Regions from separate parts of the Homo sapiens genome. Here regions 1 and 2 are each linked to region 3. Evidence: promoter capture Hi-C in 16 types of primary human blood cells and fetal thymus (Javierre and others, 2016). All regions are on one chromosome and are shown on one strand. Each heading gives the region's core, a stretch centred on a gene start or on the middle of the fragment in contact. The rest is flanking DNA. Distances are from core to core; before and after follow the strand shown.

Region 1 (2,895 bases), core at 42-2,541, 350 kb before region 3:
TAGCAACCCTATGGGGTATAGGTATTATCATCTCAATTTCCAGATGAGGAAGCAAAGGCTTAGAGTAACAAATAAGCCACTTTTTGTCCATGGCAGTGGAACCACAGTGCCCCTACTCTTCATTCCTGAAGAAAATGCTATATTTTGACTCCAGTATTGATTATTTTCCTGTTTTTCTTCTAGTGAAAAGTAGTTTATCAGTTATGTCCCATAAGCTTAACTCTCGCTTGTTTTCTCTTTCATTAAATGGCAATTTATTGGAGGTAGCGCTGTATAAACAGGGGACAGTGTGTGTATCTGTTTGCCTGAAGATAAGAAAAGGGAAAGGGTACTTCTGGAAAGTGAATTATTTAGCTTAAAATTGAGCAGTTTCCCTAAAACATGAGTCAGCAGCAGGAGGGTATGGATCAGCCAGACCAGGAACCACAGGCTTAATTATTAGCTAATGGGGAGTCAAGGGAAGAACAGCTACCCACTTCCCCCATCGCCTCCTCACAACCGTCTTGTTTGCCCACAGTCTTATTCTCCCCATGCTGTGATCCTGTGAGAGGAGCATTAGTGAAAGAGTGAAGAGACAAAGTATAAAATGTGTGAGATCAGCCTACATCTGCACCCTGCTTCTGATAAAAGTTAACCTCTCTGAGACCTGGCTTTCTTGTCCATAAAATGGGAAAAGATCATACTAACAGGGTTCTAAGGATTACCATAATGTGGATAAAGCTTTGATCCAGCACAATGTCATCACATAGAAGAATGAGTTAGTGGCAGCAGTTATTAATGTGATGCTAGTCTATGTGTCACAAATGATGTTGCACTGAGGGGTGGAGGGATGGGGGACGGGTGCAGATGCAAGAGGAGATAGTTTTCAGAGGAATGTGTACTCAGGAGGGACTACTCGGGCTCCATCAACCATCAGGCTTCCACAGGAAACTTGGGTCCCAGGCATCTAGAGTTCTCCTAGGGCCCCTGGATTTCTTTTACTTCTGAAAGATGAGAAATAGCTGTTCTGCTGATGCTGCCAACTCACGGAGAGCTGGGAAGCTCCATAAACTTCACAAGCTATTGCCGTAAATTGGAAGAGATAGAGGGGGACTTCTCTTTGTTAGGCGCTGTAGTTGTGCTTTTTCATTTAGTCCTTACAGCAGCCCCAGCAGAGGTTGTGCCTCGCCCATTTCCCCCAGGCATTCGCCATTCTGCTGTATACCCACAGAGTCCTGTTGCAAGTACCTGAGACTCTGCCTGAGGACTTCTCTTGGTTTGTGTTGGCACAAGCTGAGAGTACCAGGGAGTTAGTGCCCCTGGGACAGCTCTCAGCCAGTGGAAGTGGGAGGATAGATACCCCAGCTTCCTCACTCAGTGAGGGACAACTCTAAGGCACATTCTACCTATTTCTCAGGGTTCCCTGTGGGAGTGAACCTCTCTAAGCTCCCAGTAACAATTAACGTACACTTCCTTGGCTTCTTTCTCTTCCTACCTGGCTTCCAGCTCCTCTTCTGTATTTTCCTGATCAGGACTGGGACTAGGGTGATGAGCCTTTATTCTTGGGTTCATCTAAGTGCAAGGTTGGCACCCGTATGAACCTGAGAGGGTCTCTTTACATTCTGTACCCTAGGCATATCATTTGCATTGCCCTGATTCTGGCCCTGTCCTGGATCACTTCCCAAATAAAGTTATTTGCATTCAAATTAGGTCTGCCTCTGGGTTTACCTAACCTAAAGCAAATCCTATGAAGACATCAGTCTCCAAGTTTTATACAAGGAAAACCGAGGCTCAGAGGAATAAGAAATTTGTCTAAGGTCTTTCAGTTGGTAATGAGATGGGATTTTGAAACCAGGTCTGCCTGACCCCAGAGCTGAAGCTTTCTGTACTATAGCACACTACTTCCTACTTCTCATTTCAGTCACAAAACTAATGACTCAAGGGAAATTTCAGGTTTGGATGAGCTCATTTTTGCCTGTGAATCAGGGTAGCTTTGGCCTTAGGTTGTTAGCAGATGGGAATTTGGGGAGGGGAAGGCAGGTAGTAAGTGGATGAGAGGGTTGTAGTTGTCAGTGGAAAGATGGACTAGTGGAAAGACTGCTGAAACCATATGCACCAGGAAGACAGTAAGAGCTTGCTTGCTTCCTCTCAGTTTCAAAAGCCCTGGACTTTTTTTTTTTTTTTTTTTTTTTTTGAGACAGTCTTGCTCTGTCACCCAGGCTGGAGTACAGTGGCGTGATCTCGGCTCACTGCAACTTACCCTGCCTCCCAGGTTCGAGCAATTCTCTTGCCTCAGCCTCCCGAGTAGCTGGGATTACAGGTGCACACCACCACGCCCGGCTAATTTTTTTAATTTTTAGTAGAGACGGGGTTTCACTGTATTGGCCAGGCTGATCATGAATTCCTGACCTCAAGTGATCCGTCCACCTCGGCTTCCCAAAGTGTTGGGATTACAGGCGTGAGCCATCATGCTTGGCCAGCCGTGGACTATTGAGATTGTGGGAGGGCTCTTCAATTTAACAAAAATTAATTGATACTTGTTCCTTGCCAGATAAAGAACTGAGGTCTGAGGCTGCACGGGTGAATAAGAAACATTCTCTGGGAGCCCATAGTACAATGGGGAAGAAGAACACATAAACAGATGCCTTTAATAAACAGATATAAATGCAGTGATACAAGAACATGCATCATAATACGGAACCAATAAGCAGACCACACTCAGCTGGGGTCGGCCAGGAGGAGCTTTTCAGAGAAGGGCTCCTCATTGTCGTTGATGATTATAATTTAAGGGATGAGGAAAAATGAGGTGAAAAGGTGGGAGAGGCCAAAGGGAGGGTCATTCCAGACAAGTCAGTGCAAACAAAGACACAACAGAAGTAGCTCGATGTGTGTAGGAGAGCTGCAAGGCACATTCAC
Region 2 (2,700 bases), core at 149-2,648, 420 kb before region 3:
AGCTGTCCAGGGTAGCGGGGACACATCTAGGCACTGTCTACCTACCCTAGCAGATGCCAAAGGTCTCCAGGACACTGGGGGCACTGTGAACTATTTCTGGGGTATTCCATTCTGCCCTGATGGAGTAGACCCTAACCAGTATACCAAGGTCATTCTCTGCCAGTTGGAGGTTTATCAAAAGAGCCTGAAAATGGCTCAGAGGCAGCTCCTTAATAAAAAAGGTTTTGGGGAACCAGTGTTACCTAGACCTCCTTCTCTGATCCAGAATGAATGTGGCCAAGGAGAGCAGGCTAGTGAGAAAAATGAATGCATCTCAGAAGATATGGGAGATGAAGACAAAGAGGAGAGGCAGGAGTCTAGGGCATCTGACTGGCACTCAAAAACCAAGGATTTCCAGGAAAGCTCAATTAAAAGCTTGAAAGAGAAACTTTTGTTGGAGGAAGAACCAACAACCAGTCATGGTCAGGTAAGGGTCAGTGATGCTGTAATTAAGGATGATTTATTCACAGATTAAAACAAGGATTATTTTAGCTGTTATTTTTGTGGTCTTCCCCTCCTTGATTATTAAAGTAATACATGTTCACTATAGAAAATTAGGAAAGTACAGGAGAGTATAAAGAAGAAAAAAACTACCATTTTTTTTTTTTTGAGTTGGAGTCTCGCTCTGTCTCCCAGGCTGGAGTGCAATGGCGCAATCTTCGGCTCACTGCAATCTCCACCTCCCGGGTTCAAGCAGTTCTCCTGCCTCAGCCTTCCAAGTAGCTGGGATTACAGGTGCTTGCCACTATGCCCTGCTAATTTTTGTACTTTTAGTAGAGACGGGGTTTTACCCTGTTGGCTAGGCTGGTCTTGAACTCCTGACCTTGTGATCTGCATGCCTTGGCCTCCCAAAGTGTTGGGATTACAGGCGTGAGCCACCACACCTGGCCAGTCATCATTTCTATGCATACAAAAATACATGAAAAAATTTTTTGAACAAAATGAAGACTCTTCTGTGTTAAGTTTTGTTCCTCTCCCTACTTTATAGTTTATCTTAGATCATTTCTTAATAGATGACTTATTCTACCATAGATAAACCATAATTTATTTTTTGTATAAATTTTTTTTTTTTTTTTTTAAAGACAAGGTCTCGCTCTGTCACCCAGGCTAGAGTGCACCGATGCCATCTTGGGTCCCTGCAGCCTCCACCTCTGGGATCAAGCGATCCCCCAACCTCAGCCCGTCGCAATAGCTGGGACCATAGGTGCACGCTACTACGCTGAGCTAATTTTTATATTTTTTGTAGAGATTGAGTTTCACTTTGTTGCCCAGGCTGGTCTCGAACTCCTGTACTCAAGCCATCCACCTACCTTGTTCTCCTGAAGTGTTGGCAGTGTAGGCATGAGCCAACACGCCTGGTCTAAAAATTATTATTATTTCTGAAAGGTTAAATTTTTGAATAGGTAACAATATTCACATGGCTCGAAATTCAAAAATATATAAGTAAAAAGTCTTAACTTTTCTCCCTATCACCTAGCCAGCCAGTTCCCCTCTCTGGACTCAAATTTGTGTTACTAGTTCTAGTGTATCCTTCCAAGATACTTTATCTGGTACAAGCAGAATACATTTTCTTTTCCCTGCCTTCTTTTACACAAATGATTTACACATTATTTTCTACTTTTTTCATTTAATATCCTAATGAGATCATTACATAACAGTATATAAAGAATTTCTTCATCTTTTTTTTTTTTTGGATGTGAAAAATACCATGTGTGGATTAGTCAGAGTTTACTGTTACAGATAGTAAAATGTCCAGAAGACATTTCATCCACATGGAAGATATTTGTATTATATGATAATTTTCTGTAGCTGTAATTGGTGGACCAAAAAATGTATTTATAATTTCATTAGCTGTTGCCAAATTGCCCTCCATAGAGATCATATACATTTACATTCCCACTGGCAGTGTATGAATACTAGTTTCTCCATACCTACAGTAATGCAGTATTGTCAGACTTCTTGATCTTTGCCAGTCTGAGAGATGAAAAATGGCGTCTCAGTGTAGTCTTAATTTGCGTATCTCTTACTATTTGTGAGGCTGAACTTTTTTCTCACATGTCTAAGACCCATTTGTATTTCCTTTTCTGTCTGTTAGATCTTATGATCATTTTTTCTTTTGATAATCTATTGGTTTGTGGATACACTTTATATAGTAGAGAAAGTAGTCCTTTGTGATATGAAGTATGGATAGTTTCCGAGTTATTTTTTCCCATTACATAATGGTGTATATTTATTATTTTGCTTGTAGTGGTTTTGAATAATTTATTGAAACCAATCTTCATCTTGGTACATTTAGTTTGCTTTTTCTGAAGTAGCTAGATTATATTGTGTATGAAAGCTTATATCTTATTTTTCCCTTTGAATATTATAAAGCAATAATATAAACTCTTTATATATAAATTGTAATTTTAAAGAGTATTCTGTTTTATGACTATACTGTTTTTTCTTGCTATTTCTGTTACCAGACTTTGACTTTTGGTTTTGTTTTACTATTATGTTATTCTGTCTTTCTTGTGTTATGATAAAGGTTCAAGAAATGGTAACTTTGAGGAGCTTCATAGAATAGAGAACATGGATTTGGAGTTGAGTTCTGATTTTTGTGTTTAGTAATTTGTGTGTTTTTGAGCAAGTCACTTAACCTCTTTGAATCCCAGTTTCACG
Region 3 (2,700 bases), core at 167-2,666:
GGTCCTCCTTCAGTGTGGGGAGCCCCCGGGGTGCACTCAGCCACGATGCTACAGAGCTCCCCCAGCACCGCCACCGCTACACGGCCAGCTCGCCATGCACTTTCACTTCTGCTTTTTCATTTACTTCTCACAGCTGTTCCCAAGCAGGAATTATCCTATCCTATTATTCCAAGGAAACCGAGGCTCATAGATGCCCAGAGATGGGTGAGCCAGGGGCAGCAGGTTAGACCCAGGCTGCCTCCAAATCCAGGGGTCCCTGGGCAAGCCTTGGTCTGGGCTCCGTTGATCCAGGAGGCCGTGCCTGCACCCACAGAGCGGACTCCAGCCGAGCCTGGGTGCCCGGAGCAAGGATGTGGGACCTGAGCACGCAGCTCCCCGCCACGGGCCCTCCCAGTGCCTATGGCCCAGGCCACCTGGCCCAGCAGACACATACAGACTCAAACAGCCCTGGGTTCAGATGGCAGCATTTCACATATTTGTTGTGCAACCCCAGGCAAGCCCTCTCCCCTCTCCAGGCCTCAGTTTCCCCTGCTGAGAAGCAGAGTGAGGATAAAAATCAAGGGGTCTACACACGGGCCATGACTTGTTTCCATCTGCCGGACCTCGGTGCTCACTGGGACCCTGCCTTGTGCCTGGTGCCCAACCCAGCACAGGCCTGCCTGAGTGACGCAGCATGGCCCCGACTCTCAGCTGGGTCACCACCTCCTCTACCAGGGCAGAGAGATGTGCAAGGCCCGGACTGGGCAGAGCTGGGGCCAGCCTGGGTCAGTCCCTGCCTGACACTTCCTAGCACTGGCTGAGGTGGCACTGGGCTCGGTCATAGGCCACATGCTCACCTTTGCCTCAGGGCTTTTCAGGCCCTTTCTGGAACTCTTCTCATCCCCATTTGATAAATGAGGAAACGGAGGCCCAGAAGAGTTAAGTAGCCCACCAAGGTCAGGGTGGAGCTGGGATGTGAACCGAGCAGCTGGGGTAAGAGCCCAGGTCAGCTTCCCCGTCCTCAACCCCTGAGCATCCTATGAAGGGGTCAGGCCAGTTACCTCGTTTCCCTGGGGTGCCTGCCTCCCTTCCATCCTCTGAAGAATCATCCCTTGAGGACTTGGATGGGAAGGGGGCCATCAGCCCCCAGGGAAGGAGGTATTATTATCCCATGTTTACCAAAGAAACAGGCCTCACAGCAGGCTGGGACCTGACCCGGCTCTGCCCCATCTAGCGTGTGACTTCCCCTGCCCAGCTTCAGGGGAGACTTTTAAAGACCCCCAAGCTTGCCTTGGCTCTAGGGATCCCCCCAACCCCCACATTTCTCTGGCCCAGAGACCCCCGATGAGCTGGATAGTCCCTACCTGTGTCCCCTTCGCCACGGAGGCGGCAGGCAGGCGCCGGACAGGCGCTGGCACACAGGTGGGCACCCTCTGCGGCCTGCAGCTATGTGGCCAGCAGACTTTGGCACCATCTCCACCTCCACTGAGCAATCATTAACCCTGCCAGAGACCACACCTCCCAGGAGGGGTCGACTCCTAATGAGGCAGAGTACAGCTGGGGGCGCCGGACAGGAGGAAGGGACCAAGGCGCCAGAGCTCCTGGCGCTCCTGGGGCTGGAGGCCCACACCACAGGAGAAGGGGCCTGGCCGACCCTGAGCCCAGAGGACCTGGGAACAAGGCCCAACACTGGGGCAGGCTGGAGGCGGGGACGGTGACAGTCAGAAGGTGATGCCAGAGCCCCCGTCCCCTCCCTGCTACGAGTCTTCAGTGACAGGGGATCTGTGGACAAGTGGGGGATTGAGTCAGGAGAGGGAAGTGGTAAAACAGTGTAACAATCAAACACTGTGTGGCCAGACCAGCCCCTGTGAGGTTCTCGTGGAGGACTGGGGGCTAGCTGAGCCTGGACAACCCACTTTCGAGCCTGTTGACACTGATCTCACCCCGCATTGAGACCCTCAAAAGGCATCTGCCCGTCCCCAGGGGCTTCATCCACTCCCAAGTTGCCTTTTTTTTTTAATTATTTATTTATTTTTGAGTCAGAGTCTTGCTCTGTCACCCAGGCTGGAGTGAAGTGGCACAATCTTGGCTCACTGCAATCTCTGCTTCCTGGGTTCAAGCAATTCTCCTACCTCAGCCTCTCGAGTAACTGGGATTACAGGCGTGGGCCTCCACACCCGGCTAATTTTTTTTGTATTTTTAGTAGAAACAGGGTTTCACCATGTTGGCCAGGCTGGTCTCGAACTCCTAACCTCAGGCGATCCGCCTGCCTCGGCCTTCCAAAATGCTGGGATTACAGGGATGAGCCACGGAGCTCGGCCCCCAGGCTGGCTTTAAGCGCTGCCCGATGTGGTGGCCTCCCGAAGGGGCTCAGCCACAAGTCCTTCTTATCCTCACTTTGGCCCAGCCATCACAGTTGACACAGAAAGGGGACCCTGGGCACAACTTTCTTAAGGCACACCACTGAGTCGTCACCATTGGGTGGCCCTCTTCTTGTGGGCAGAGGACATGTCTAATTCACAATAGATATATAGTCATGCACCATATATCTGTGTTTTGGTCAACAACGAACCACACATATAATAGCGGTCCCATAAGAGTATAATATCATCTTTCATGGCACCCTTTCTGTGTTTACATGCACAAATACTTACCCCTGTGTTACAGTTGCCTGCAGCGTGCGGTACAGTCCCAGGCTGCATAGGTTAGCAGCCCAGGAGC

Evidence for each region. The method cuts DNA at HindIII sites, captures the fragments that hold promoters and counts their contacts. A CHiCAGO score of 5 or more calls a contact.
Region 1: a fragment that was not itself captured here is called in contact with the fragment with the promoter of CDHR2 in region 3 in 1 of 17 cell types (M0 macrophages); the score reaches 5.7 in M0 macrophages.
Region 2: a fragment that was not itself captured here is called in contact with the fragment with the promoter of CDHR2 in region 3 in 1 of 17 cell types (naive B cells); the score reaches 5.9 in naive B cells.

Annotation. Positions count from the first base shown.
Region 1 is chr5:176,901,016-176,903,910 of GRCh38, reverse strand. No RefSeq gene overlaps it. Among named protein-coding and RNA genes, the nearest start is that of HK3, 3.1 kb to the right of the region's middle. The HindIII fragment of the contact is 1,138 bases long and covers 723-1,860 here.
Region 2 is chr5:176,966,321-176,969,020 of GRCh38, reverse strand. UIMC1 (ubiquitin interaction motif containing 1) reads left to right here. Exons shown (of 15, transcript NM_001199298.2): 6 at 1-466. Among named protein-coding and RNA genes, the nearest start is that of UIMC1, 39 kb to the left of the region's middle. The HindIII fragment of the contact is 1,963 bases long and covers 417-2,379 here.
Region 3 is chr5:176,548,058-176,550,757 of GRCh38, reverse strand. It overlaps CDHR2 (cadherin related family member 2), which reads right to left and starts at 1,416. Exons shown (of 32, transcript NM_017675.6): 1 at 1,344-1,416. RefSeq lists an enhancer at 211-1,144. The HindIII fragment of the contact is 9,099 bases long and covers 1,267-2,700 here.